6 separate regions of the Homo sapiens genome follow, and regions 1, 3, 4, 5 and 6 are each linked to region 2. The links are contacts of gene promoters, found by promoter capture Hi-C in blood cells and fetal thymus (Javierre and others, 2016). All regions are on one chromosome and are shown on one strand. The core of a region is centred on a gene start or on the middle of the fragment in contact, and the rest is flanking DNA. Distances in the headings are between cores, read along the strand shown. Region 1 has its middle 140 kb from the start of LINC01370. Region 2 holds the start of MAFB (MAF bZIP transcription factor B). Region 3 has its middle 130 kb from the start of LINC01370. Region 4 has its middle 45 kb from the start of LINC01370. Region 5 has its middle 110 kb from the start of LINC01370. Region 6 has its middle 67 kb from the start of LINC01370.

Region 1 (4,456 bases), core at 1,647-4,146, 550 kb after region 2:
AAAGTGATTTCTTGAGATGGAAACTACTTCTGGCATAGATGCTGTGAACATTGCTGAAATGACAAAAAAAGATTTAGAATATTACATAAACTTAGTTGATAAAGCAGCAGCAGGGTTTGAGAGAAATGACTTCACTTTTAAAAGAAGTTGTACTGTGAGTAAAATGTTACCAAACAGTGTCACATGTTACCAAGAAATCTTCCATGAAAGGAAGAGTCAATTCATGTAGCAAATTTCATTGTTTTCAGGAATTGCCACACTCACTCCAACCTTCAGCAACCATCACCCTGATCAGTCAGCAGAGGAGGAGGAGGAGGAGGAGGAGGAGCAGGAGGAGGAGGAGGAGGGAGGAGGAGGAGGAGAATAACAAATGTTGGAGAAAATGTGGAGAAACTGGAACCCATTTGCACTGTTGGTAGGAATGTAAAATTGTGCAGCTGCTATGGAAAAACCATACAGTGGTTCCTCAAACAATTAAAAATAGAATTACCATATGATTCAGAAATTTCAATTCTGGGTATATATCCAAAAGATTTGAAAACAGAGTCTCAAAGATGTATGTGTTCAGCCATGTTCACATGTTCATAGCAGCATTACTCACAATAGCTAAAAGGTAGAAGCAACTCATGTGTCCATCAACAGATGAATGAGAAGCTCAAATTGGTCTACACATGCAGTGGCATATTATTCAACTGAAAAATGAAAGGAAATCCCCCATTTGTGACAAAATGGATGACCCTGGAGGACATTATGCTAAGTGAAATTAGCCAGTCACAGAATGACAAAGACTGTGTGACTTATTCTATGCAGTCATAGAATAGTTAAATTTATAGAGACAGAAAGTGAAATGGGGGTTCTCAGGGGCTGGGGGGAGAGGAAAATGGGAAACTGTCATTTTAACAGGTACAAAGTTTCAGTTTTGCAAGAGGAAAAATGTTCTGGAGCGAGACTGAACAACATTATGAATATACTTAACATTACTGAATTGTGCACTTAAAAAGGGCTAAGATGGTAAGCTTTTATGGTAATCTTTTATGTATATTTTACCACAATTTTTTAAAAGCAAAGTTGATTGCATTACAATTTTTAGAGGAAAACTAATAGATTGATTTAGTTCCTCTCCGCTTTTTCTACTTTGAACAGGCTCCCTCTGAGACCATGGATCAGGCAGTATGGAGGGGTATAGAGGGGGCCGAGGCACTTAGGATGGTCACCTGCACTGGAGAAAACAGACGGGAATAGTTTTCCCCCATCAGACTTTCTATAGACAGACAGACTGTCCTGTCAGCCTCATGGAGTACAGTAATTGCTCCCACTCAGCGGGTGGTGCTCCCCCAGGAGATTGGCCAAGGAGTCATTGTGGGATCTGTCATGTCCTATAGCCCTGCACTGGGGCTGTACAAGTGTCCTCTCCTGCTTAAGTTATTTATATAGGTGGCTGAAAACGCTTTGCTTGTACAAACTAGAAACTATTAGATTAGGCCAGCAGAGACAGCCAGAGGCAATCTTTTAACAAAGTGAGTGGGATTCAAAGTAGGCATGGAAAGCAAATATTATTTCACTGGGAGTTGATTAGAGGGAGCTCTGCGGATGAGCAGTAACTGCTTTGTTAATTTAGCTGGGGGAGGTGAGTAGGGCCAGGTAGGCACCAGCTGGGTTGGAAGGTGAGCAGCCTGGGTCGAGATGGTAATTCAGGGGTAGGTCAATGCATCAGGCACCCCTCCACACACACTCCCCCTCCTCCTTATTTAAAGTACATGATGGAGCTTAGCAGCTGAGAAGCCTGGTTTGCTCTAAAATTTCGCATTTTAATTCAGGCAAACACTCTATAAATCCAATGTATCGGAAAGCAAACATTGAGGCTAAGTAAGAAGGTCCATTAGATGGAGTGCTTAGTTATAGGGCCTGAGCGTGTAAGGGGGTGGACGGGGAGGCACAGAAGGAGAGGCTGAGCTGCAATGCAAGTGTAGAATGTGGGTACTGAAAAAGAGGATCTGAGGAAGGTGGGCCCTGCGAAGGGTTTGAGGCAGAGTGGAGAGAAAAGGGAGATTTGGGGATTACAGAGGGTAGGTCAGTTTTGAAAAGGCTGGGTTAGGAGACACTTGGAACTTCTAGTGAAAAGAGAATTGAAAATGAGGCTTCAGATGAAGTTTGGTAATTGGGGCTTGGGAGAGAGGGTCTCTGACAGAATGAGGGAGGGCCAGAAGAAGACATTAATTTGCAAACTTCTGGGTACATAGTATTACTGGCTACCTTGTCAGTCAAATTGTAAGGAGTGAAGGCCAGGGATAGATTTGGGAATTTGGATGATGGCTCATTTACACTGTTTTGCAGTAGGGCTAATGGGAATTTTATGAAGATGTCAAACTTATCCAAAGGTGGCCGAATTGCCACCAAAAATCCTGGGCATCAGAGAGTCCAAAATAAAAATGGTACTCAGGAGCTCCTGGGTGTTCTGTCTCCCAAGGATGCCCACAGGAAAGAAGAGGGTCTTCACCCATGGAGGTGGTGTGCATGGTAGTTAAGGCTGTGGGTTCTGGAATGCGAACAATGTGGATTCAAGTTCCACCTTGATCATGTACTAGCTGGGTGACCTTGGAAAAGTCAATTACCCTCTTTGAGTCCAGTTTATTAACCTATAGAATGGGAATAATTATACTTCCTTGGAGGTAATGGTAATACCTCCTTCAAATGAAGACAGAATGTGATAATGCAGATAAGTTTAGCATGATGGCTGGCACAAAGAGAGTGATAGATTAAACATATATATTTTAAAATTGATGTTATGAGAATAATTCTCAAAAACAATGGCTCCAAATCACCCACAGGTGTTCTCTGTATTTGGGAGCAAAAGTTCTAAAGGAAGGTGAGGACTGTCCACAGTGTGGCTGGGCTGGAAATATGGACTTCCATGGTTTTTCCCCTTTTCACAGTAGTTCTGGGAATCTTTGATCATAAAGTCTTCATGGTTATTTGTTATTCAATGTTTTTCAAATGACTTTTACAAAAAGGGAAATAGCCAGGTATAATGACCAGCCACTGGAGTCTCCCTTGGATCCTATTAAGTCAGCACTTTTGCTTCTCAGTAAAGTTAAAGATTCGTTAAGGTGATCTTCTCAACATCCCCTTCCAACTTTAAGGTTTTTGGAAGAGATATTGGAAGTGTATTAAATCATTAGCACAAGAGAATGAGAAACACAACTGATAATGGCAATAACCACCATTTACTTAGCCCTTTTCATGTGTCAGGCTGATAATTAACTCTTTTACAAGGCTGTCCTCAGTTAGGGATCATCACAGCCCTTTAAGGTAGGGACTATTTTTATTACTGTACAATGGAAAAAGAAACTGAGCCCAATGGAAGATCATGCTTGGCTTAGGAGTATATATCTGCTATGTGGCAGGGCTGAGATTTGAATATGTTCAACCAAATCTGAAGTCAGATTTCTTGATATTAACCACTCCATGAACCTGATGACTGCCATCCTCAAACTTCATAATTAGAGGCCAAAATGTAGACAAATCACAAGAGCCTTTATTGTTAGGTGAGAGCCTGGTTTCTTAGGAAAAGATGATAATTAATCTCCTGTGATAAAGGGAAAGGCAGATTTGATTTTTGCCCAAAATGAAGTTGTCCTAATTGTTACTGATATACAGTAACAATTTGGACCCTTAATCAATGATGTTAGCAGTTTTCAATGTTAATTTAATTAGTACAAGATCACCTGCTGGTAGAAATATTGGATAATTAGTGTCTTATGTAATGGCTTATGAAGTACCCTGTAAAAGAACTCCAATAATCACAAATTCTCAGTAGAACTTTTATCAAAGCACAATATTTAAGTGGTTAAATCCTTGATTGGATGCCAGTCTGATAAAACTTTGGTTAGGGCATCAAAATTACCATTCCTATTGCATTGCTCTGGTTTCTAAAAGATAAAAGGTGGAAGAGTCATATATCTGGTTCTTCTAGAAAAACATTTCCAGGGGCGACCTTGGAAACGTAGAGATTTTTTTCAGAGGTGATGCTCGAATGACAGTGAAGATCTAAGGATAATTCACTCAGATTCCAGCTCCAGAGGAAATATAGAACCCATATCATTTGGTCTTGGATAACTCTATGGGGAGAAATTTTGCATGGAGAAACTTTCAGGTAAATTCTGATAAGCATACAGCCAATATAACTAAGAGGGGTCTGGGTAGCTCCCAGTGTATGAATGAGTAGGATTGATTTACAGAGTATGTTTCAGGTCTTAGAGAGAACGGCTTGAGTTGTTCTGGTGACAAGGGTTGATAGTCGTTGCAGAGAATGTCAAAGTAGGAATATAAAATAATTCCTGGGCCATGTTTTGTGGGCCACACATAATTCCTAAGCAAATAGGTAAAGACACATTATGAAGCCTGATTATACTGGTCACAGGTAAAGTCCCTGCCTACACAAACACCTGATAAAGCA
Region 2 (4,447 bases), core at 425-2,924:
AATCTAGGCGCGTCTGCACCGGTGTGGCTCACGCGACCCCTACGCGCGAGGTCAGTCGGGCTGGTCCAGCGCAGACAGCGGCCGGGACTCACTCACCCAGTGCGCGCCTCTCCTGCCTTTCGCTGCGCGCGCCCAAAGCTAGAAAGAAGAAGGTGACGCGGGAGGCGGGTCGGGTCTCCGGGTCCAGCGAATTCGCGATCTATCCGGTTTCGGCGCCTGAGCCGAGGTCTCAGAAAGAACCCGTTAATTCTAGCCATCCTGGATCTGGGTAGGGAGGGTGCGCGGCTCCCAAGCCCAGTCTGGATGCCTAGTGCGGTGTGCTTCGGTCTCCCCGTCTGCCCTCCGGGGAGGTTTCTCACCCGGTGGCCCTGGGCCGCTTCACTGTGGCGCTTCCACTTTTGGCTACCGGCCTTCCTCCGCCCAGGACCTTCCGGCCCAGGGAGCAGCCGACGGGCACCCCCGAACGCTGGGGCACGGAATTTCAACGGGGCGACCAGAGCGGAGCTCGCGGCTCGAGGCTCGCGGCTGAGTACGAAGACGGGACCCGAGGACCTGTACATCGCTCGAGGGGAACCTGTCCTGGGCTCTGGTGCACACATAGTATGCGTTCTGGGCTGGCTTGGGTTGGGCCAGGTAGGGGAGACCTGGCTGGGTACGAGGCGCCGTCCAAGCCTTCCGGCCGTGGGCCGGGCGGTCGCGGCGCCTTTGCGCACAGTGGCCACTTGGGGTCGCACTTTATGCCTGTTTGAGCCTCTCCGCGGCGGGCTGACGCCGGGATCTGCTTAATCGTTACAAAACGTTCAAACAAAAACAGGGCCGGCTCCCCAGCAGTGGAGAGCTACTCGGAGCACCGTCCCGGGCCGGCCTCGGCCCCGAGGCTCCGGGGGCTCAGGATTCCGTGCGTGTGGCGGGGAAGAGGAATTCAGAGCCTTTGGGCTGCTGCTTTTCCCGTCGCCTTCACTGTGAACATTGTGCGGTGGGGTGAACGCGGGGAGCGGCGGGGCCAGTGGAGTCGAACCTCAGGGCTCTGCGACTGCACCCGCCAGGAGGGGCCCTCGCTTGGCCTGAGAAAGGTCCCCTGAGGTTAAGAGTTGGGTCTGAACACAACTCTCGGAGCCTCGAGCCCGCCCTCCCCAACATACAAATACGCGCAGATCTCCAGAAACAGGAACGCACGACACACACGGCCAGAAGCCGCGAGGACACACAGAGCGTCGCCCACTGGGCGGGGGCCGCTTGGGAACAAAGGGCCCAGGAGGCGTTGTCCCGGCGCTCATTCTGAGCCTCCTTGGGGGTGACACGGGATGGGGGTGGGGTGCAAAGGGAACTGAGGGAGGAGAGTGCGCGAGGAGGGGAAAGCGGTGATTTGGCCTAGAGGTGGGGCGCGCACTCCAGGCGAGCGTGCGTGGGCCGGGACCTGCAGGGTACGGGGGTGGGCCCAGGCTGGCCGTCCCACTCCGCTCCAGCGCTCCGCCAGGCCTCCGCCGCTCCGGGGCCGCTCGGGCCGCCAGTCAGCTGACGCGGGGGGCGGGGGAGCTGTCAGGCGCGCCCCGCCCTGCGCCGCTGGGCCGCGGAGGCCGTGCAGCTATTGGCCCGCGCACCGGGCCGCCCGGGCCCCCGCACCCCAGTGACATCAGGAGGCGATAAAAGGCTGCGGCGCCGCCGGATCCAGCACAGCTGCACCGCCGAGCTGCGAGCGGCTGCGAGCGAGAGAGCGTAAGAGCAAGAGAGCTAGAGAGCGAGCAACGGGCACTCGCCCCACGCCTCCCCTCAGCCCCACCGCGCGCTCCGCTTGCCTCTCCACCCCGCCCGACTCTACCCGGCCCGGTCCCTGCGCGGGCACAGCCCAGAGCTCTGGGGCGGTGCAGGCAGCCTCGGGACTCTCCGGCGCGCCGCCGCGTCCCCAGACAAAGGCTTGGCCGGCGGCCCCGGCCCGCTGCGCCCTCGCTCCCCGCCTCCCCAGCTCTTCTCCGCTCTTCCCCCCCGCGCTTGGCTCGGCGCGCTCCGGCCGGCCGCAAAGTTTCCCGGGCGGCAGCGGCGGCTGCGCCTCGCTTCAGCGATGGCCGCGGAGCTGAGCATGGGGCCAGAGCTGCCCACCAGCCCGCTGGCCATGGAGTATGTCAACGACTTCGACCTGCTCAAGTTCGACGTGAAGAAGGAGCCACTGGGGCGCGCGGAGCGTCCGGGCAGGCCCTGCACACGCCTGCAGCCAGCCGGCTCGGTGTCCTCCACACCGCTCAGCACTCCGTGTAGCTCCGTGCCCTCGTCGCCCAGCTTCAGCCCGACCGAACAGAAGACACACCTCGAGGATCTGTACTGGATGGCGAGCAACTACCAGCAGATGAACCCCGAGGCGCTCAACCTGACGCCCGAGGACGCGGTGGAAGCGCTCATCGGCTCGCACCCAGTGCCACAGCCGCTGCAAAGCTTCGACAGCTTTCGCGGCGCTCACCACCACCACCATCACCACCACCCTCACCCGCACCACGCGTACCCGGGCGCCGGCGTGGCCCACGACGAGCTGGGCCCGCACGCTCACCCGCACCATCACCATCATCACCAAGCGTCGCCGCCGCCGTCCAGCGCCGCTAGCCCGGCGCAACAGCTGCCCACTAGCCACCCCGGGCCCGGGCCGCACGCGACGGCCTCGGCGACGGCGGCGGGCGGCAACGGCAGCGTGGAGGACCGCTTCTCCGACGACCAGCTCGTGTCCATGTCCGTGCGCGAGCTGAACCGCCACCTGCGGGGCTTCACCAAGGACGAGGTGATCCGCCTGAAGCAGAAGCGGCGGACCCTGAAGAACCGGGGCTACGCCCAGTCTTGCAGGTATAAACGCGTCCAGCAGAAGCACCACCTGGAGAATGAGAAGACGCAGCTCATTCAGCAGGTGGAGCAGCTTAAGCAGGAGGTGTCCCGGCTGGCCCGCGAGAGAGACGCCTACAAGGTCAAGTGCGAGAAACTCGCCAACTCCGGCTTCAGGGAGGCGGGCTCCACCAGCGACAGCCCCTCCTCTCCCGAGTTCTTTCTGTGAGTCGTGGCCGGTCCTGGCCCCCGCCCTTGCCCCGGCCCGGACTCCCTGTCCCACGTCCCTAGTCCCAGACTACCCCGGACCCTGTCCCTGCCGCGGCCCCAGCCTTGACCTGTTTGACTTGAGCGAGAGGGAGGAAGGGCGCGCGGGCCGCGGGCGACGGGCGGGTGCGCGGGCGGGCAGGGGACCTTGGCTAAGGCGAGAGTAGCGCACGCCAGCGCCGCCTCCTAGACTCGAGCAGAGCCGGAGAGAGAGACGAGAGGGTGGGAGGTCCCGGAGTAACTTCTCTCCAGGCTGAAGGGCGGCGAGGCATAGTCCCGAGAAGTCACCAAGGCCATCTGGAGACTCCTGGCTTTCTGAACTTTGCGCGTTAAGCCGGGACAGCTGCTTTGCTGCCCGGAGAGTAGTCCGCGCCAGGAAGAGAGCAACGAGGAAAGGAGAGGGACTCTGGCGTCCCGGCAGGCGAGAGGCGAGGCTGAGCGAAAGAAGGAAGGACAGACGGACCTGTCTGTCAGAGTTCGGAGAACACTGGCTCTCAGCCCTGAGACACAGGCCTCAGTTAGGACGCTCGGCGCCCAAATCTCATCAGTTTTATTGCCTGCTCGATTATATAGAAAAATACAAAAAATCTGCATTAAAAATATTAATCCTGCATGCTGGACATGTATGGTAATAATTTCTATTTTGTACCATTTTCTTGTTTAACTTTAGCATGTTGTTGATCATGGATCATACTCCCCTTGTTTCTTTGGGTGAGAAGGGATCGCAGTTTGGAAACTCCGGCGGCTGCGTGCGGGGTTTCAGTCCCAGCTGTAGGCTTGTAAATACCCGCCCCGCCAAACCGCATAGAGAACGTGGCAGCAAGCTGAGGGTCTTTGTTTGGGTTTATTATTACGGTATTTTTGTTTGTAAGTTAAAAAGAAAAAAAAAAAGAAAAAGTTCCGGGCATTTTGCATCAGAAAACAACTTTGTCTTGGGGCACACTTGGAAGTTGCATGTTTTCTTTCCTTCCCTTATCCCCATTCGGTCCTCTTTTTCCTCTCTCGCTTTAGTTTTCAACCTTGTTGGTGCTGAGAGAGAGAACCGAGAGGTCCCAGTACAAGGGCAGGGCAGGGCAGGGAAGCTGCCAAGCTCCGCACCCCAGAGGAGTGTTCTGGACTACAGCCTTGTCTTATGGTCAAATTGATACCCTTAATAAGAAAGGAAAGGAAAGGAAAACAGATCCTCCCCTCTGCTTTTTATTGTAACCAGAATCACCCTGAGGTCCCTTCTGAACCCTCTGGGCCTGCGCTAATTGTAGGAGCCACAGCGCTCCTAGGGTGAGAGGCTTAGCCATCCCTGACCCTGGCAGTGCACTGGTAAGCAGACACTGCACTGAACCAACTGCTATGCTCAGAATGTACCAGAAACCCAAACATT
Region 3 (4,708 bases), core at 821-3,320, 810 kb after region 2:
AGAGCAATATGTAAATGTATATTGTGTTACAGCATTAAGATTTCACCATTCGTGTCTTAGAGCAACTGGCTTTACTTTACTGCACCAGCCCCCAGTTCCAACTTCTTGTCCTTAATTCCAGTCTCTCTTCAGTTCTGACCAGCCTTACCTCTGACTAAGCCCTTAGCTCTGCTCCAAGGGAAAAGAGTAGGGTAGCATTCCTGAATTAGATTCCTATGACTGCTGAAACAAATTACCCCAAACTGGGTGTCTTAAAACAACAGAAATGTATTCCCTCATAGTTCTGGAGGCCAGAGTTCAAGATCAGTTTCACTGGGACAAAATTAAGGTGTTAGCAGGAACACACTGTCCCTGGAGGCTCAGTGAAGAATTCCTTCCCTGCCCCTTCCAGCTTCTGGTGGCTGCATCGCTTAAATTTCTGCCTCCATCTTCACATTGTCTTCATCGCTGAGTTTATCAAATGTCCTTTTTCTCTCTCTTATAAAGACATTTATGATTGAATTTAAGAACCACCTGGATAAAACAGGATATTCTTCCCAGGTCAAGATCCTTAGTCACATATGCAAAGATCCTTTTCCCTAATAAGGGAACACTTAAGGTTGTAAGGATTAGGAACTGATGCCTGTTGGGGCCTGTTGTTCAGCCTACTACACTACCCAAAGTAGCTTGAGTTTAAGACCAGAGCCAAGGACGACGCAGAAAGAAAGAGCTCTTGAAGTCAGGAGGATGGTGAGTCAGAGGATACTAAAATCTTTCACTAACTTCTTTAGTAAAGACAAGAAAACATACATTACACACACATAGTGAGGAGAGAAGTTTGGGAGCTCCAAATAGAGACTCAAACCAAGAAGAGACCCCCACAATTACCTGGCCTGCAAACAGTAGTCCTGAAAAACACCTTGCTGAGGGAAGCTGCAGACTCACCTCTATTTCCTGTCATTTACTCAATTAACACATAGTGTTCCAAACCTACTACAAATCGAACACACTTCTCTGCACTGGGATATTTCAATGGAAAAGATGCAAGCAGAAGTCCCTGTCCTTTTGGTACTTACATTCCAGGCAGGATAGACAGTAAACGACACATTTAATTAGTAGCTAAATCATGTGTAAATAAAAACATTCCTTGTATCCAGTTTCCAAACTCCTGGCATCTCTCCTATTCCCTTGACTCCCCAAAGATTAAAAATAGAAACCAATAAATCACATCTGAGGGTTCTCTCTTCACTTGTTTTGCATTTGGCCTGTGTTTAAAGAAGCTGTTTTTTCTCCTACCAATATTTTCAATTTATTTTTATTTGGGGCAAGTTTTTTTTTTTTTTTTAGCACACAGTAGGTTATTGCATAACTTTCTATTGATTTTTAGGTTAGAGAGAACTGTCTTAGGGCAAAAATGTATTTTGCACTGGACAGCTCCAACTGCACAGCCTTATACTTCAGTATTTATATTTTTGTTCATCTTTCTTTTCATCATTACATTCTCTTGGCCCTCTCTCCCCATTTCTCCCATATAAGTTCATATGGGGCTGTACAGTCAGCAAGAGACAGACACAAGCTGTCATTGCCCTACGGACACCCTGGCTACTCCTGTCTGCCCTGCTCTCAACAAAACCTGATGAAAAGATGTCTCTGCAGTCAAGCGTTTAACCTCCTCACCTCTCCCCTTTGCCCTCTGCCTTGTCTGAACAGCAGTGGGGGAAGGTGGGAGTGAGAGAAGAGATTAAATCAGGTGGTTGAAAGCTAATACCATCTCCCAGCAACTCTCAAAGTCAACCCAGGAATTTAAACTGTAATATTATCCCCTAGGAAAAAGGAGCAAGAAAATGAGAAAGTCATTGTCTTCCTGGGTTTAGGGTTGGGGTGCTCAGGCAAGGCTGATGACAGGGGTGGGACAGCCTGGCCTTAGCTGGGGTGAATCTGGGAGAGGAAAGAAAAGTGGGGCTTCCACAGACATCCATGTGGGAGCAATCCAAATCGTGCCTGCCAAGCCTCCAGGGCTCTGGGGGACATTCAGAAACTCCAAACAAGTGCATGGAAAGATATGCTTTGTTTTCTTTTTGCCCCCGCTGAGAAATGCTGCCCATTGTGTTTCCGTGGGAGGCTTTTGTGGCTAATTTTGAAAAATGAAGTGAACAGGTAAACTGGAGCTAATGGCCTCAACCTCAGGGCAGACATCTGGGGCGATGTTGACTTTGTTGCCAGAGAACCAGCTGGCCTTTGCACTCCACTCCCCCTTCCAGGCCCGCTCCCTGCAGGCCTCCAGGGGGGCTTCAGCTTCTAATGAACCAACTGCACAGTCCCTGACGCTATAGTTGCTGCTGCCCAGACTCTTGTTGAAGCTCCATAAATGTTTGTTTTATGAATAAGCACGCACTTGGCACTCCTCGAAGATAATTCTCCTTTATCCTGAGAGGCAACAGTTTCCCAGCTGCCCTTCTCTTGCCAGGGGAAAAGAGTACCATCATATATACTCGCAGATCCAGGAAGAGACAGACTCGGCAGAACTGGAGACCAAAACATTCCTCATGAGTTTCTCCTAATGACCAAAGTGATGGGAATGAAAGTAACCTCCTATATGCTGGACACTGCTCTGATGAGGTGTCTAGCACATATCCTTACAAGAATCGTGGGACACACTATGTTTTCCATTTATAGATAAGAACAGTGGAGGCTAGTGCATGTAATAGACCTAAAACCACAAAGTCATCTAGTGCTAGATGTAAAGTTAGATATAAACATGAGTCTAATTATTCAGTGCAATGCTTAAGAGCGTTGCTTAGAAGGCTGAATTCCTGGATTCAGTTCAGATTTGCCAATAGCTTGCATTGTAACCATAAAAAAGTTAATTTACCTCTCCAGACCTCATTTTCCTTATGTACTAAACAAGAGGAGTAAAGGTTCCTGCCTCTTGGATGTTGTGATGACACATGAGATAATGGCTGTAGAAGATTTTAAAAGTATCCCACGCAAATAAGTGCTCAAAAGCTATTTGCTGTCGATATTACAATGTCAATGATCCTTCCACACAACTGCAGATTGTTCCTAGAAGGTAAAGAGTTGCCCAATTTCTAATAAATACTAGAGAATACTAAGGTATATGTGGATGTCCCAGCTGGACTGTTGGTCTGATTTAGATGATCATCTTTGGGTAGAACAAAGGGTCCTTCCCCATTCAAAAGCTGCCAGCCCTGAGTGTGAGAGGATGTGGGGTGAGAAGAACTTGCCATTTCTGGGCTGAGGACTGAGGTCTGCCTTCCCCACATTACCCTGGTTATGGTGACATTGATCTTTGGCACCAGAAGGTCCGGTAAGCATCAGCCCTACCAATGACTGGGAGTCTCAAGGACATTCTAGAGTGGAATTCCCCAGTGCCACTTCCCTATCCTTTGCCCTTGTCTGGTTCCATAGACAAAAAAGAGAAAAAGAAGGTTGGCAGGTCCTTCTTCCTGCTAAATGGTCCCATCTTTGAGCCATTTATTTCTTTATTCATTCAACAAAGTTTTCAACATTTATAATGTTCCAGCCATAGGGTTAAATGCAGCACAAATAACAAAGAGAAAAATAAAGACACGTACAATTGCACATGTATAAGTTCACTGCAGGAAGAGTGCTCAGCCCCTTTGTAGGCTTCACTGTGGATCGGAAGTGTGGATGTCTACACAAAAACACACCACAAGCAAAGAACAGGGAGCCTTCTGTTGATGTGGATGTCACTAATCATTTTATGTTACCCACATGGAAAACTCTTATGCCTGTTTTTCCTGTTCTGCTCCCTGCCCTTGGGCTTCCAAATTTTGCCATCTCAACACTTCACTGTTCTGCTTCTTTCACACAATTGTATTCCCCTGACTTCATGTCTGAGCTTACAGGGACTGTCAGGCAGGCCTCCAAGTTAGCCCTCATACTTTCACAAAGAGCAAGTCTGCATTTCCTTCATCCAGAACATCAAACAGAGTGTCTCCCCTGGGCCCCTGATATCCTTGTTACCACCTCGTTAATGACTGTATGGGGGGAAGTTTTATGAGGCATCAGGGCTGATGTAAACAGATATGGGAGGATGGATGTCTTCTTGCCTGCATCATCATGGGGTAAAAGCAGTACTGACCCTCTTGTGTATCCTCCCAAGGCATCAGCATGAACTTCCTGGGCTTTTACCCTGTGCTACCATTTGCTCATGAGTCTGGGGAGATATAAGAAGGCAGTTTGTTCAATTCCCACCTATGAGTGAGAATATGCGGTGTTTGGTTTTTTTTGTTCTTGCGATAGTTTACTGAGAATGATGATTTCCAATTTCATCCATGTCCCTACAAAGGACATGAACTCATCATTTTGAACAATGAGAACACATGGACACAGGAAGGGGAACATCACACTCTGGGGACTGTTGTGGGGTGGGGGGAGGGGAGAGGGATAGCATTGGAGATATACCTAATGCTAGATGACGAGTTAGTGGGTGCAGCGCACCAGCATGGCACATGTATACATATGTAACTAACCTGCACATTGTGCACATGTACCCTAAAACTTAAAGTATAATAATAATAAATAAATAAATAAATAAATAAATAAATAAATAAATAAAAGAAGGCAGTTTGCTGGAGGAGTTTGGTGGCTCAACCTCAAAGCACACTGGAAATTCATGTGAGGATAGAGTGTCAATCCTTCCTGCTGTCATGGTGGCTGCAGTGGAGGGTTACAGTATTACAGT
Region 4 (4,495 bases), core at 480-2,979, 640 kb after region 2:
AGCCAAAAAAGGATACCATTGTCCTAACTATTTGAACCACTATTCACCTCCTGTCTGTTCTACAAAGCAAACTGAATAATATGTTATCAAACTATGCAAAGGATGAATTCAGGAAGGTTGAAGATGCCTTTGTCACCAGTTCTCTCTCTTGTTCTCTATAACAGTCATTGCTGGTGCCTTCCTCATATCTCCTAGGTATTTGCTTTTTCTACTAAAGGCTTCTTCCTGAAAACACCTGCAACAGATGTTTTAGAGAGCTTGGGAGTGGGCTTAACCCCCCATATAAGACAGGCTGCAAGTGTCAAGGAATCAATGACCCTTGTAACAGTCTTCAATCAATGACAGATTGAAGTTGGTAGAAAAATAGCTCAGCTACCTCACCCTTTTGATAACATCTCTGTACTGTAACCATCAACAGATATCCCTCATGAGGTTGAGCCCTAGTTACTCAACTAGGATAATGAGCAGTAATGGACTCAATTGTGCATCCCGTACTGTCTTATTTCCTTTCTTTTCTCATTTCCTTGCTGTGCTTTCTGAGATCATCTCCCAAATAAGCTACTCACCTTCACATCCTTCACTCAATGTTTATTCTAGGGAAACCACCTTGAGGCTCTGCCTGTCTCAACTTGTTGTGGGCATCAAAGAGCAGTTAGAGGCTATTGATATATTAGAGGTAAACTACCTTCCTGAGATTAAATAGTTGAATATGGTAAAGCCTTCTTCAGAATAGAAATATCGTACTATTGTAAGATTATCAGCATACATATTATGTGTGCAAAGAAGGCAACATGCTTATTTATTAGCAATTAAAGGTCCTAGATATTATATTTAGATAGATGTATACAAAGGCAGATAATGTATTATTTATTTACATATAATCATTATTTTTTCTTAATGAATGTGTGTCAGTTATTTTTAAAGATGCAATAAAAAACAATAATTAAGTCAATGGAAGCCATTGGTTAGCAATTTGAAGGATAGAATCTGAGTCCTACTCAGAACTATATATCATAAAGTATTGGCAATTGCAATAGGTGAGCTGTAAATGTAGTTATTCCTAAGCTTCCTAGAGAAGAAAACACTAAAGAAAACAAGCTTTCTTAAAAGCCGACAAAATTAGGAACATAGTTGTATATGGTTTTATAATTATATGCTTTATATTTATTATTGTGTATTATTTACAATCATCTCAGTTACTTAGATTTCTGGCTCAATTTTTGGTGCCCTTCAAAATATCTGTATTGTTACATTTTTGACTTCCTTATTTAGGGTCAGTTCCTCCTCTTTCTCCACTGGGTAAACAAAGATTTCCCCAATTTTAGGACTTATTTTGTTTGTTTCCATAGTTACTGAGCATGTACACATATATACACTTACCACATGCACACAAATACTCAATGACTTTTGATAATTTTGAGATAAATATCTTGCATGTAGTTTTTCATCTACCACATTCAAAAATAAATATTTTATTCTTAAAACATGAAAAAAATTTATTGTTTTAGACAAAGAGGCCACTTTTGGAAAATAATACTTTTTTTTAGTTGAATCAGGTGAAGACAGAGTTAAAATCACATAGGATTTGCATTTTTAAAAAAGGAAAGCACTAGGATTGTTGGCCCTGGAGTAACTATTTACACTGAACAGAGGTTTGGCTTTTTACATAACATCAATACAATGCATTTTCCAAAGTCTGAGAAATAACAAGGTTCTGTCTCGAATGCTTCACAGAGGAGGTTCAGATTTTGGGACAAGTGTAACCACCCAGGGTCGGATTGCATGTGACTCTGAAGCTGATGAACTTCCATGGCCCTCATTAAAAATGAATATTTTTAAGAGTATAGTTTCTTTAAACACATTCTGATTATTTTAAAAAATGGTTTACTTCTTCCTTTAACAATGCCAGATCTTTGGTTTGAGTAGTCATTATTAAGGCAGGTTCTGGGGAGATGTATCAATCATCAAAGTTAGAAAATTGTAGAGTAGGTCTGTTCTAAAAACTAATAATTGGTGTCTTCTAAATTAATAAATTATTCTTAGTTCAAACAACTCTATGCCCAAAGGACAAACCAAATATGAATTTCAATAACTAGTGAATATAAGGATCAGAAATCTTTTGCAATATCTTCTGGGAATGAATATTTTTTGTCAAATTTAATGTGTTCTCTCTTGTTAAAATCTAAAGTTTAAGATGTAAGCTCTCAAAATAATCTAAGATAGGAGTTTTCAAACTTGAATTGGGCATGCAGATAGATTATCTTATCCCTGGGATAAGATAACTCAGGTATTTTCTATGGATGTCTACCTCACACGAGGAAGAGCTGATTTGTCTTCAATGTAGTGTGAATTAAGCTTGAAGAGGTCAACTGAACAGACATTTTAGAACAAGCATGCAAGTCCTCAGCCAGGTATCAATCAGGCATCTCATTCTCAGAACCTATGTTCCTCCATGAGTTCATCAGATCGTTTCCCCCTCCACTGCACCCAAGGACCACAGATAGCACTCAGTTTCAAATAGTTAAACAAGTAACATCAAATCTTTCTAGCCAAATCAACATTGAACTGACAATGTATAAAATCAAATCCTCCCAATCTACGAAGTTTGAGAATCTTGGATTACAATAACTACAGAAGTGAAAACTTTTCATTTGTATACTAATGACATGAGTCTTTAGTAATATTTTCCCATGCTTTCTGGCATATTTTCTGCTTACTCTTGTGCTATGGTTTGAGTGTTTGTGCCTTCCAAAACTCATGTTGAAATTTAATTGCCATTGTAACAGTGTTAAGAGGCGGGACCTTTAACAGGTGATCAGGCCATGAGGACTCAACCTTCACAAATGAATTAAGGCTGTTATCAAAGCAGTGGGTTCTTTACAAAAGGGTGGGTTTGGTTCCCTTTTCTGTCTCTCTCTAACCCTCTATTTGCCTTTCCACCACGTGATCCCCCTGCAACGTAATGACGCAACAAAAAGGCCCTTGCCAGATGTCAGCACCTCAATATTGGAGTTCTCAGTTTCCAGAACTGTGAGCCAATACATTTCTGTTCACTATCAATTAATCAGTCTGTGGTATTCTGTTATAGCAGCACAAAATCGACTAAGACACCTTGGGAATAAATTTACTGATATAAGATCAAAGCTTGTTTGCTATTTGGAAAAAAAGAAGAAAATAAAAATTCTGGATGCAGAAAGAATGCCAAGAAATATAGTTAAAATGTGAATAAATGCATATATTTCTTCAAGCTCCCTAAATACAATGCTAGTTGCAAAACAGTCCCTGGGAAATAATCTTGATTTTTTCAGAATAAATGGTGACTTCTGTTGGTAGTGAGTTCAGTGAGATGAACTTTAATTTCTCTTTCAAATTTGTAATCCTTTGATTGTTCAAGCAGTGTGTTTCTTTGGAGAAGGCTGAGGAAGTGGTGTGGACTACAGTTTACTTAACAAATACATTTTTACAAGAGAAATAATTTGGAGAATCCAGTTTCCTAGACTCAATGATACATAATTGTTTACATTAGCTACATCAGAGAATTTCCTCAAATCACCATGTCTATATAGAGAGTTGTTATTTTTCTCTTAAGGAGAAAAGTTCAACTGAGGGTTTTAGTCACAACTAGAACAAACTATTTGGGTATGAGTCCAGCTATTTCTAACTGACCTTATTTGAGCCCAAAATATATCATTTTATACGTTTTTCAAAAAAAAGTGAATCAGAAAGGAGACAGGACTTATCATTTGGAAGAAATCAAATACTTATCAGATGATTCCTCCAAACAATGGTAGCCCTGCCTTCCTTAGCACTCATTTGATTCTTCAAAAATGTGTTAGCTCCATAACATGTACCTTCTTTGTGACAGTTAGTTAGGATTTTAGAAATGCCTATTGTCAAGAAAAATTAAGGTTACCTAAGGATACAGCAGTTGATTGGAATGGATATCCAACAGAAAATGACTACTGAGGGAAGAGGACCCTTAATATCACAGGTTTGCTGGTGACTGCAGGAAAACTATCCATGCAGTGACTTATAAGATGGGCCTGACTTGCAGACTGCACAAGTTACTTCCACAATGGTTAGTGACTCTTTGGTAAAATCTGGGCAGTTAGCACCCTACTGCTGCTGATATTTCAATTAATAAAGTAGTTAAAATTGAACTAGTATGGCAAGGAGGTACAAGCCCATTGTATTTTATTTATTTAATAATAGGGGCTCATTTATTAAGTTCTAATGGCCAAATGGCAAGGACAGTATGGCCTCACCCTTTGGTCCCAAGTTAGTATATTCATAATTACCCAAGACTCAGAAGTTTGGTGTTCACTCCAGTGGTGAAAATAATGAAAATATGAAAAAGTACTCTTCTTGGAGTCAGCCTCACTACTTGACCACAGCAGCAGGATTCCAAATGCTTACGAGAGCAGCAGCATTCCAAATGCTTGAAGAACTAATTTAGGTTTCTGAGGTTTCTGGAAGCCTTCATGAGACATCCACC
Region 5 (4,616 bases), core at 909-3,408, 800 kb after region 2:
AGCTTTTGACTCAGTCCTATTTTAGTTGAGAAACTTAGCACATTTTATTTATTTATTTTTTTACTTCTTTTTTCACTTCCCAGTATTTCATAGTGCAATATGTGGTCTTGGACAACTGTTATTGTTTCCCACAGTATTTTACATTTTGGGTTATATTTATTTTAAAATTTAGAAAATCCTCCCTCTCATTTCTTTTAGAAGCATTCTTGGCCTTGTTCTTATTAATTTCTACTTTAATTGTTTTTGTTCAGTGTTCTTTTCCTTTGTTTTTGCAGGGTTCTCTTATGTGGATTGTCCCTCCAAGGCTGGTGTCCTGGGAACTCTGTTTTATGTCCTTGTTACCTCTCACTCCCTTTAGTCTCTTGGGTGCCCTCATAGATGCTCATGTGTGCGGCCATCACCCCTGTGCTTGTGTCTATTGGATCTCTATCCTCAAATCAGATTCTCTCTTGACTGCACCATTAGTATAACCAACTGCCTACTGGATAATATCTTTAATATCTCAGAGACACACACAGAACTTCGACAGAAATATTTACAGAAATACGGATGTCTAGCGTTATTGTGCTACCTCTCTAAGTTGGGGAATAGGTGTGAAGAACTAAACAATATTGAGGACCTATGGTATGCTATGGTATATTCATACATCACACCACTCCATTCTCATTTTGACACCCTCTGGTATAAAGACGTAGGTGCGTGCTCAATTCTAAAAGTGGACAAACTGAACGTCAGGAAGGTTAAGAAACGTATCCAAGACTTGGTTTGGGTTCTAAAACCCCTGATCTTCTATTTCTTCCACATTAAAACTTTGCTTTATCATTTCTCCTGATTTCCTTGACCTCTGCAGCTTGATTTCCTTTCTTTAAGAGCAGATCTTAGTCTTTCCATTTGGACTCATCTTTCTGGGTCATCCACTCCTTCCTAAGGGTATTTCTAGGTTTGATTCCACATGTAGAAAGGATGAAGAAGGAAGAGTTTCATTGCCTGCAATTGGCCAGGAGACCAAGTCCACTCTGCGGTGGGACTAGGGGCTGTTCTAGATCCTCAATTCCTCTGTTGTCAGGTCCTGGATCTTAAGGGGAATGGATGGGACCAACCATGGGAAGGGCATCCTATAGGCTTCTAAGAAATTAATTAGCATTCATAACTATTTTTCTTCCACTCTTTCCCACTTTACCTCAGAAGATGGGTGGGACTAGAATAGTACAGAGTTCTGCAAAACTGAACTACTGTGTTTGAAGTGCCATGTGGAAGCTTCTGGTTTGGTTTGGGTTCAGATGGATTCTTCCACTGGTCCTGTTTGTCCCCAGCTAGGTTTCTTTTCTGTGATATTTCAGGCCAACCTAAGATAGCACATCATTGAAATCATCAAGCTAAAGGATCTCTCAAGCTTCCATGTAAAGCAAATGTTAAGAATAGATCTTTCGTCTACCTATATTTTGGGTGGTACAAAATGCCTACATTCCTGAAGTCCTGCTTCTGCAGACCAAGGCCAACAGATTGTTCTTTGAATGTCTCAAAAGCTCTTTTTTTCTTATAATGCCAAATGCAATATTTTTTTGAAAATTCTACACCAGAAGTTTCCCAGCTGAGAAAACAGGCTTGTGAAAAATGGTTTCAGAAAATGTAATAAACCATGCAAAAGTTGTTCAGGATGCGTTTGAAATGAACATCTGGATATGAGTGCAAAATTACTCCTTTCCCCTCTTCCTCTTTCTCACAGCTGTTTGAAAGACTCCTGAGGGCAGGGAAGCAGGTCAATGAACTAAATTGCACCTTCCCCCCTCTTCCAAATCCTTTTGCACCTATGCAAGGAATCTAGCTCACATATGTGTTTAATAAGTGAGCACAAATACAAGAAAAAAAATTATCTCGATTCCTGTTGACTCTCTGCAGCAACTCCAAAGGAAAATAAACTCTGGATTTTAAATTTTTTCAAACAAAACTTATGGTTCTAATAAAATGTTGCTTTAAAGTTGACTTCTTTATATCAAGAACTGAACAAACCACCCATTTCTCTTTATTTCTTAAAAATGAAGGATTATTACATCACACTTTCCCCAAATGGAAGAAAATCCAGTTACCAAGGCTTTGCCTTTTAACTTATAATTGAGAAACATAAATGATTCTCTATGTTTTTACTGAATTTATCATTGCATCTGTTTATTACAAGTCCCTTCCGTAACTACTACTACAATACATACATCTAAAGATGGCATCAACTAGTTAAGTAGATCAGAAAGGAACACGTTGACATTTAATAGATCTTCATGAGATTATCAGTGTTCACAACAAATGCAGCAAATATGAAATAATTACCTCATATCAGAAGAATGTTTAGAGAAGTCTTTGGGGGGACCAGACAGATGTTTTCACATGAAAAGAGGCTGACTCATCAACCCTGTGCTGTCAGAGGCCAAAGTGGGCCTGAGGAAAAGAGGAGATTCACTACTTAACACAGTAGCTTTTGTCATTTGTTTCAAGCACTTGTCTCCTCTACTGGTCTCTGGGATTTTCTATGGTAGGGGAGGAGCCTTAGTCATCCCTGGATCCTTGTGCTGTACTGTCAACAGTACACAGTACATTGCATGTGTTCATTTGTTGAGCAAATGACTTGCTGAATAACTGGAAGCAATTCCTCATATAGATTTTCCAATTACTAGAAAAACTCCCTTATGAAAAAATGGCCAAACACTTGCAAAACATGTTTGAGGACTACAGAGGGCGTATTTCTTAGATTATGTGGAATCCAAGGCCCTCCCATCTTTTTGGTGTCTGAAATTCCTGTCCACATGCCAGAATTATCTCTCAGCAATCTTTCTTCCTCATATCCCTCATGTATGTTTACAGACATACCCTGGTTCTTACTAGGATCATTGTAGAAACAGTCTTTGAACTTGACCTCTGCTTCAAAGCTTCTTCTATCTAATCTATCCAGTTCTTTTCAGCTGGTTTTATTTTTATTTTTTTGAGACAGAGTCTCATGCTGTCACCCAGGCTGGATGCAGTGGTGCAATCTCAGCTTACTGAAACCTCTTCCTCTAGGGTTCAAGTCATTCTCATTCCTCAGCCACCTGAGTAGCTGGGATTACAGGCATGCACCACAATGGCCAGCTAATTCTTATATTTTTAGTAGAGACACGGTTTCACCAAGTTGGCCAGGCTGGTCTCGAACTCCTGGCCTCAAGTGATCCACCTGCCTCTGCCTCCCAAAGTTCTGGAATTACAGGTGTGAACCACCGTGCCTGGCCTTATTTTGTCTAACTGAGTTCCTACACAGTGCCAAGCACTGTGCACAGCAGTGAATACATACTAGGGTGCTATTGAACTGTATGGTAGAGATCACCTGCCCAGAATAGCAAAGTAGGCTTTCTGGGAGAAGCAAATTAGAAGGAAAACAACAATGAACCAGATGAAGAAAGCATCAAGGAAAAGGGTATTTGAGTATGAAGGAAAATTATTAATGGTATCTGATATAGTTTAGACATTTGTCCCCTCCAAATCTCATGTTCAAATATAATCCCCAGTGTTGGAGGTGGGGCCTAGTGGGAGGTGTTTGGATAATGTGGGTGGATCCCTCATGAATGGCTTGGTGCCCTCCTCTGAGGTAATGATGAGCTCTTGACTTTTTAAAAGAGTGTGGCACCCCTCCTCCTCTCTTTCCTTCTCTCTCACTGTGTGACACGCTGACTCCCCTTCCTCTTCCACCGTGATTGGAAACTCCCTGAAGACCTCACCAGAAGCAAATTCTAGTGCCATGCTTCTTCTAGAGCTGCAGAATCATGAGCCAAATAAATCTCTTTTTTAGTAAATTACCCAGCCTCAGGTATTCCTTTATAGCAACATAAAATGGACTAATAAAGTGTCATTGAGTTGAAACAGCATGGAAGAATAGAGGTACTATAAAAAGCTGTGGCTAAAGAGTAAAGCAAAAGTGATAGAATTGTGTGATGGGAAGAAGGGAGCAGAGGCCATGGTAGGAGTCCATATAAGTCATATTCATACATTTGAACTTTACAACAGTCCAGCCCAAATGGATTATGTGAAAACCTAGACTCACCATTTATTCCTCAGACCAAAGTCATTCTTCAGGCCATTCCTACTGCTAGGTATAGTCCTCTTCTAATTTCTGTCTTGTAAACATTTTCCTATCCCACAAAACCAACCCCTAAGAGCCACTCCACAACCCCACCCCCCTGCCAATACATTCTCTCAGAAGTCTTTGATGATTTCCTTGAGTGGGCCCACCTCTCCAGAGACCACTTCCATATCTTGCCTCATGTCATGAGACTGGGCTGCATGACAGAGGGGATATCTCCTATCACTTCTCCTACCCCCATGCAACTAAGGAAATATTTACCAATGAACTGTGCATAATGGTCTGCTAAGAAAAGACTACTGGCCAGAAGGAGCATTGGTCAGGCTTCTCGTTTCAAATCTTGATGCTGTCATCTGCTCCATGTGGAATCCTGGACAAGTTGCTTAATCTCTTCAAGTGTCATTCAAGTGTGAAAGGGGGATCATGGTAATACGTACCCCATAGGGGTTACATGAATATTAAAAATAATACTTGTGATTGACTTAGGGCTCAAAAATGTTAGTTGTTATCCTGG
Region 6 (4,639 bases), core at 953-3,452, 750 kb after region 2:
TGTTCCTATCCTTCCGTGAAAGATGCCATTCATTCCTTTCCACCTGTCCATTACATTCATCCATCCATCCCTCCATCCCTCCATCCCTCCATCCATCTATCCATCCATCCATCCATTAATCCATCCATCCATCCATCCATCCATCCAACCATCTATCCATCTGTCCATTCATCCATCTACCCATCCATCTGTTCATCTCTTAACAAGTGTTCATTAAACATTTACTCTGTGTTGGTGATGAGGAGACCAGAGTTAAGACAGAGTTCCTGCTGTCTTAGAGCATATTATCCAAAAGGGAAGACAGAATTATTGTCAAATACACAATGAATAACATATATATCCCATTGGAATGAGAGTTATACAGAGAAGTTAAATGAGGTAGTGTGTTAGAGAGTGAGGTTAGATTGTGTCAGGAAAGGCCTCTTGGAAAAGTGGATGTTGTGGCCATGATCTCATGCTGAGAAGAAACCAGCAATATGAAGAGCAGAACAAAATACATTCTAGGTCAGGGAGCTGCTCACACAAAAGCTATGAGGCTGACTCAACCAAGCATGTGTGAGACCCTGAAGGAAATTCAGTGGTAAGCAGCATATTGGCCAAGACAGATAGTGAGACACAAGGTCACAGAGATAGAAAGGGTCAGGAACTGTAGGGCTTCCAAAGCTTAACTAAGGAATCTGATTTTTGTTCTATGCCTAATTGGAAACCACTGGCAGATTTAAGCCTGAGCACGGTATGATCTGTTTAATGTTTCAGTGAGATGTCTATGTCTGGGTACAGAATTGTAAGAGGAGCAGGAACCAGAGTGGGCGTTAAGAGGGCTTTTGCTGCAGCTATGAGACAGGAAGGACAGCTTGGGGGTGGTCTGCAGAATTTAGAGATGTGTGGCAGTGGGCAAATTATGGAGAAGCAGAAGATAGAATGGGGAGATGGGCATGTCACATATGTAGTAGTGGAAACCATGAGCCCTCATTCATCCTTTCATTTTTTCAACAACAACAAAAAATGTATTGAGCACTTGCTTTGTGATGCACCTGGAGTGCAAATATCAGTAACTTAAAATCCCTGACCCTAAGGAACCCAAAGTCCTGGTGGGGAAGACTGGGATATAAACATAATTAAAATACATTTTAATAAATACTGCAATCAAGGGGTATACACGGGGGCTAGGAGAGCCCAAAGTAAAGACTGATTAACTCTGTTTTAAAATTAAATAATGTCAGCCTTTTGACAGACATTATTTTTATTGAATTCTATCCATTGGCCTACTGAGTTGGATTAATGTAAAGAAAACTCAATAAAATTTATGTCAGTCAAATGTTTGAGTTCATGTTCTGGACATAAATTATTTGATAACTCTGGACTACTCACTTTTATTTTCTCCCCATTTATCAAACACTTTAAGTCATTACTACCTTCAACTTTGGACCCAGGAACAGATTGTGATAGTCACATCCTAGCCTCACCATCTCAGTGACTTCTGGGGGTAAAGTAGTGAGTTTGTGGGAGCCAGCTAGGGATAGGTTGCTGATTCTCTAGGGCCCATTGATGATAAGAAAGAGGTTTCACTATTTCCACTTTCTTTCCATTATATTTTATTGGATATAAAGTATATTATTACATACAGACAAAATCATTTTAGGTATGCAGTTTTATGAATTTTAGAAAATATAGAAACATTTTACCGTCATTGATATCAAGATACAAAACATTAATATCAAACCCCCAAAATGTACCCCTTCTTCAACCCCTGGAAGCCTCTGATCTGTTTTCCTTCCTATCATTTTTGCCTTTTGCAGAATGTCATCTAAATAGAATTATGTGATATGAAACTATTTGAGTGTACTTCTTTCACTCAGCCTCAAGCATTTGAGATTCATCCAGCTGTTATTCATGTTAGTAGTTCGTTTTCTTTATTGCTGAATAGTATTCCATTGCATGGACTTGGTACAGCTTGTTTATCAGTTCTGCAGTTGAAAGATGTCGGGGTTGTTTCTAATTTTTGAAAATTATGGATGAAGCCACTGTAACAGGAATGGGAGATTTTTTGTTTAGTTAGTTTTTGATAAACGTAAGTTTTCATTTCTCTTAGGTAAATATCTAGGAGACAAATTGCTGGGTCATACAGTAAGTGTATGTTAACTTCTTAAGAAACTGTCATACTGTTTGACAAAATGGCTGTGTGATTTTGCATTTCTGCCAGCAATTCACAAGAGTCCCAGGTGCTCTGCAAAAGTGCTAGCACTAGTGTCAGAGTTTTTTCATTTCAGCTATTTTAGTGGGTATCTCATTGTGGTTTTAATTTGCATTTTCCTAATAAACTAGTGGTGCTGAGCGGCTCTTCATGTCCTCCTTCCATATACCATCGTCATATAAATGTTCCTCTTTGTTATTCAAATACCAATATGTGTTCAACCTACCCTTTGCAGTACTAGAGATGCAAAAATAATTAAGCCCCAGTGTCTGACCTCAGGAAGTTCCAGTCTAGTAATGCAGATAAATGTATTACAAATGTGAATGTAATGTGAGTGGTTCTGTGGAAATTCCCTGTAAGGTAAGATTATAACCTTTTAGGACAATTGGAAAAATCCTCAAAAATTTTGTGGGGTCTTTAGAATTTAATTTTGAGAGGCAGACTGGGATAGCAGTCCCTGGAGAGGGGATCCCCAGGGAGAGATAGGAATTAAACTTCGATGGCAGAGATGGTGAAGACACTGACCATACTGGAAGAAAAGGGTAGTACAAAGATGTGAAGAACAAAGATGGATTAATAAAAATTGCACAGAACAGAACAGAGATCCATGTTAGTCAGGGAGGCTGCCTGTAGGTTGGTAGGAGATGATGGTAAAAATATGGGTGGATCAGAAGGAAGAACGCTGAGGAGACTTAAATGAACATACAGTTGATCCAACGTTATCTGCTGAGCATGAGGAGAGATGAGGCATGATTCAGGCTTGAATGAAACAGATGAGAAGTGGGCTGAGACTGTCTTTTCTGACTACATTTTCCTCCACAGTCTTGTTCTCCTGCCCTGACTTCACAGCCCAGAGCATCCTGATGGGCCCCAGCCCTTAGCAAAGGATGAAACAGTTTAGTTTCCCCCAGACCTGGGATCCTTCTATCCTCTTCTGGATCTTGTGCTTCTGCCAGCATGCCATGCTCCATGCTGGTGGCAGTCAATTGGACAATATGCATCCTCTTTCCACAACCATCGACACATGGCCATGTTTGTCTTCAGTGGGCTGCCAGCTCAGAAGACCCTAAATATGGAAGGTTTATGGGGCACCTCCCAACACCTTCTTCACTGGAACAATCATGATATGGGACCAGAACGGGATGAGGGCAGGAACCTGCCTCAGAATGCTCAGTCCCCCAAGCAGAGTGCAGCCTATAGGCTGTAAAATGGCCCTGTTGTTCACAGAATCTCAGTTCCATATTGAAAAGACAAAAGGACGATGCAGCGGAAAAAGTCCAGAGAGTGGTGGTGCAGTAACTGCTTTCACCAAGAGCAAGAGTCAGGCAGAAAAGTGAGGCACGAATACTGCAGCTGTCAGATGCCTGAGCTGTGGGATCAGATCACTCAACACAACCATGAGGTTGCCCAAACTCACTGCAGATGGCTTCCAGTTGTTTCTAGGAACCACGCTCTGTGACAGCAATGGGTAACAAGACAGAATAACTTACGGTCTCAGGAGAAAGGTACAATTTGGATTTGTAGCTGATTCTGAAACATGAAGCTTTTGCACTGTCTTAGGTATAAACACCATGTATAAGATATAACTATTACTAGCTAATAATTACTGAGTCCTTTCTATGTGTCAGTCACTCCATTAAGCTTTTTATTTTCATTAAATATTTTATTTGACCTTTGAAAGAGCCATTCAAGTAAAACTTATTTCTCCATTTTAAAGATGTGAAAACTAAGCCTTAAGGAGGCCAAATAACTTGTTCATGGTCAGAACTAGAAAGTGACAGAACTGGCATGCACATCTAGAAGGAAAATCAATTAGAGAAAATGCATTCCTGATCTCTTGTGAGTCGTCTCCTTGTGATGGAGAACAGGCGCCTCTGAGACACTGTACGGATTTCCTCATATTGAAATGAGATTACAGTGACATTTCAGAATTAAGTGATGAATCATGTTGGGCTCGAGAATACTTTGAGCAACAATTGCTACTTTCTTTACACCCTGGCTAACTGAAAAATAATAGAAAGTCAGTTATTTTTATAGACAATTGATTTTTATGCTTATATACCAATATAAACCAAGAAGCTCTAATAAATAACCAAATAAACAAACACGCACTTCTAGAACTAACAAGGTACAATGGTAATGCATGTTTTGTACATTCTGTGTACATATATAAAGAAACATCCACAGCTTCCTTAAGTATCTAATTGCAAAAAAACAGCTATAAATGGGAATGGGGGAGAATGCCCTACTCACACAAGCAACAAAATTCCTTACTAATTAGGAATAAATTGAAAAATGAAGGTACTTGACTCACTAATAAAACCATAAAATCTTAATGAAGGGCATACCAGTTAAAGAAATGGAAAGATGTAACATTATTAGAAAGAAAGGGTTAGTATTTAAAACAGAGCAAATCTCACCAAATTTCCATATATCTTTAATGCA

What was found. The method cuts DNA at HindIII sites, captures the fragments that hold promoters and counts their contacts. A CHiCAGO score of 5 or more calls a contact.
Region 1: a fragment that was not itself captured here is called in contact with the fragment with the promoter of MAFB in region 2 in 1 of 17 cell types (M1 macrophages); the score reaches 5.3 in M1 macrophages.
Region 3: a fragment that was not itself captured here is called in contact with the fragment with the promoter of MAFB in region 2 in 3 of 17 cell types (M0 macrophages, M2 macrophages and M1 macrophages); the score reaches 8.9 in M0 macrophages.
Region 4: a contact is called between a fragment that was not itself captured here and the fragment with the promoter of MAFB in region 2, in 1 of 17 cell types (M1 macrophages). The highest score is 6.5, in M1 macrophages.
Region 5: a contact is called between a fragment that was not itself captured here and the fragment with the promoter of MAFB in region 2, in 4 of 17 cell types (M0 macrophages, M1 macrophages, endothelial precursors and 1 more). The highest score is 18.1, in M0 macrophages.
Region 6: a contact is called between a fragment that was not itself captured here and the fragment with the promoter of MAFB in region 2, in 1 of 17 cell types (M0 macrophages). The highest score is 8.1, in M0 macrophages.

Annotation. Positions count from the first base shown.
Region 1 is chr20:40,141,995-40,146,450 of GRCh38, reverse strand. No RefSeq gene overlaps it. Among named protein-coding and RNA genes, the nearest start is that of LINC01370, 140 kb to the right of the region's middle. The HindIII fragment of the contact is 3,756 bases long and covers 1,019-4,456 here.
Region 2 is chr20:40,686,463-40,690,909 of GRCh38, reverse strand. MAFB (MAF bZIP transcription factor B) reads left to right here and starts at 1,674. Exons shown (of 1, transcript NM_005461.5): 1 at 1,674-4,447. The coding sequence starts at 2,060. The coding sequence ends at 3,031. RefSeq lists enhancers at 1-483, 484-1,461 and silencers at 1,412-1,721, 1,742-1,811. The HindIII fragment of the contact is 7,144 bases long and covers 1-2,429 here.
Region 3 is chr20:39,874,958-39,879,665 of GRCh38, reverse strand. No RefSeq gene overlaps it. Among named protein-coding and RNA genes, the nearest start is that of LINC01370, 130 kb to the left of the region's middle. The HindIII fragment of the contact is 6,081 bases long and covers 1-4,708 here.
Region 4 is chr20:40,046,883-40,051,377 of GRCh38, reverse strand. No RefSeq gene overlaps it. Among named protein-coding and RNA genes, the nearest start is that of LINC01370, 45 kb to the right of the region's middle. The HindIII fragment of the contact is 1,257 bases long and covers 1,101-2,357 here.
Region 5 is chr20:39,891,365-39,895,980 of GRCh38, reverse strand. No RefSeq gene overlaps it. Among named protein-coding and RNA genes, the nearest start is that of LINC01370, 110 kb to the left of the region's middle. The HindIII fragment of the contact is 1,525 bases long and covers 1,396-2,920 here.
Region 6 is chr20:39,935,534-39,940,172 of GRCh38, reverse strand. No RefSeq gene overlaps it. Among named protein-coding and RNA genes, the nearest start is that of LINC01370, 67 kb to the left of the region's middle. The HindIII fragment of the contact is 3,074 bases long and covers 666-3,739 here.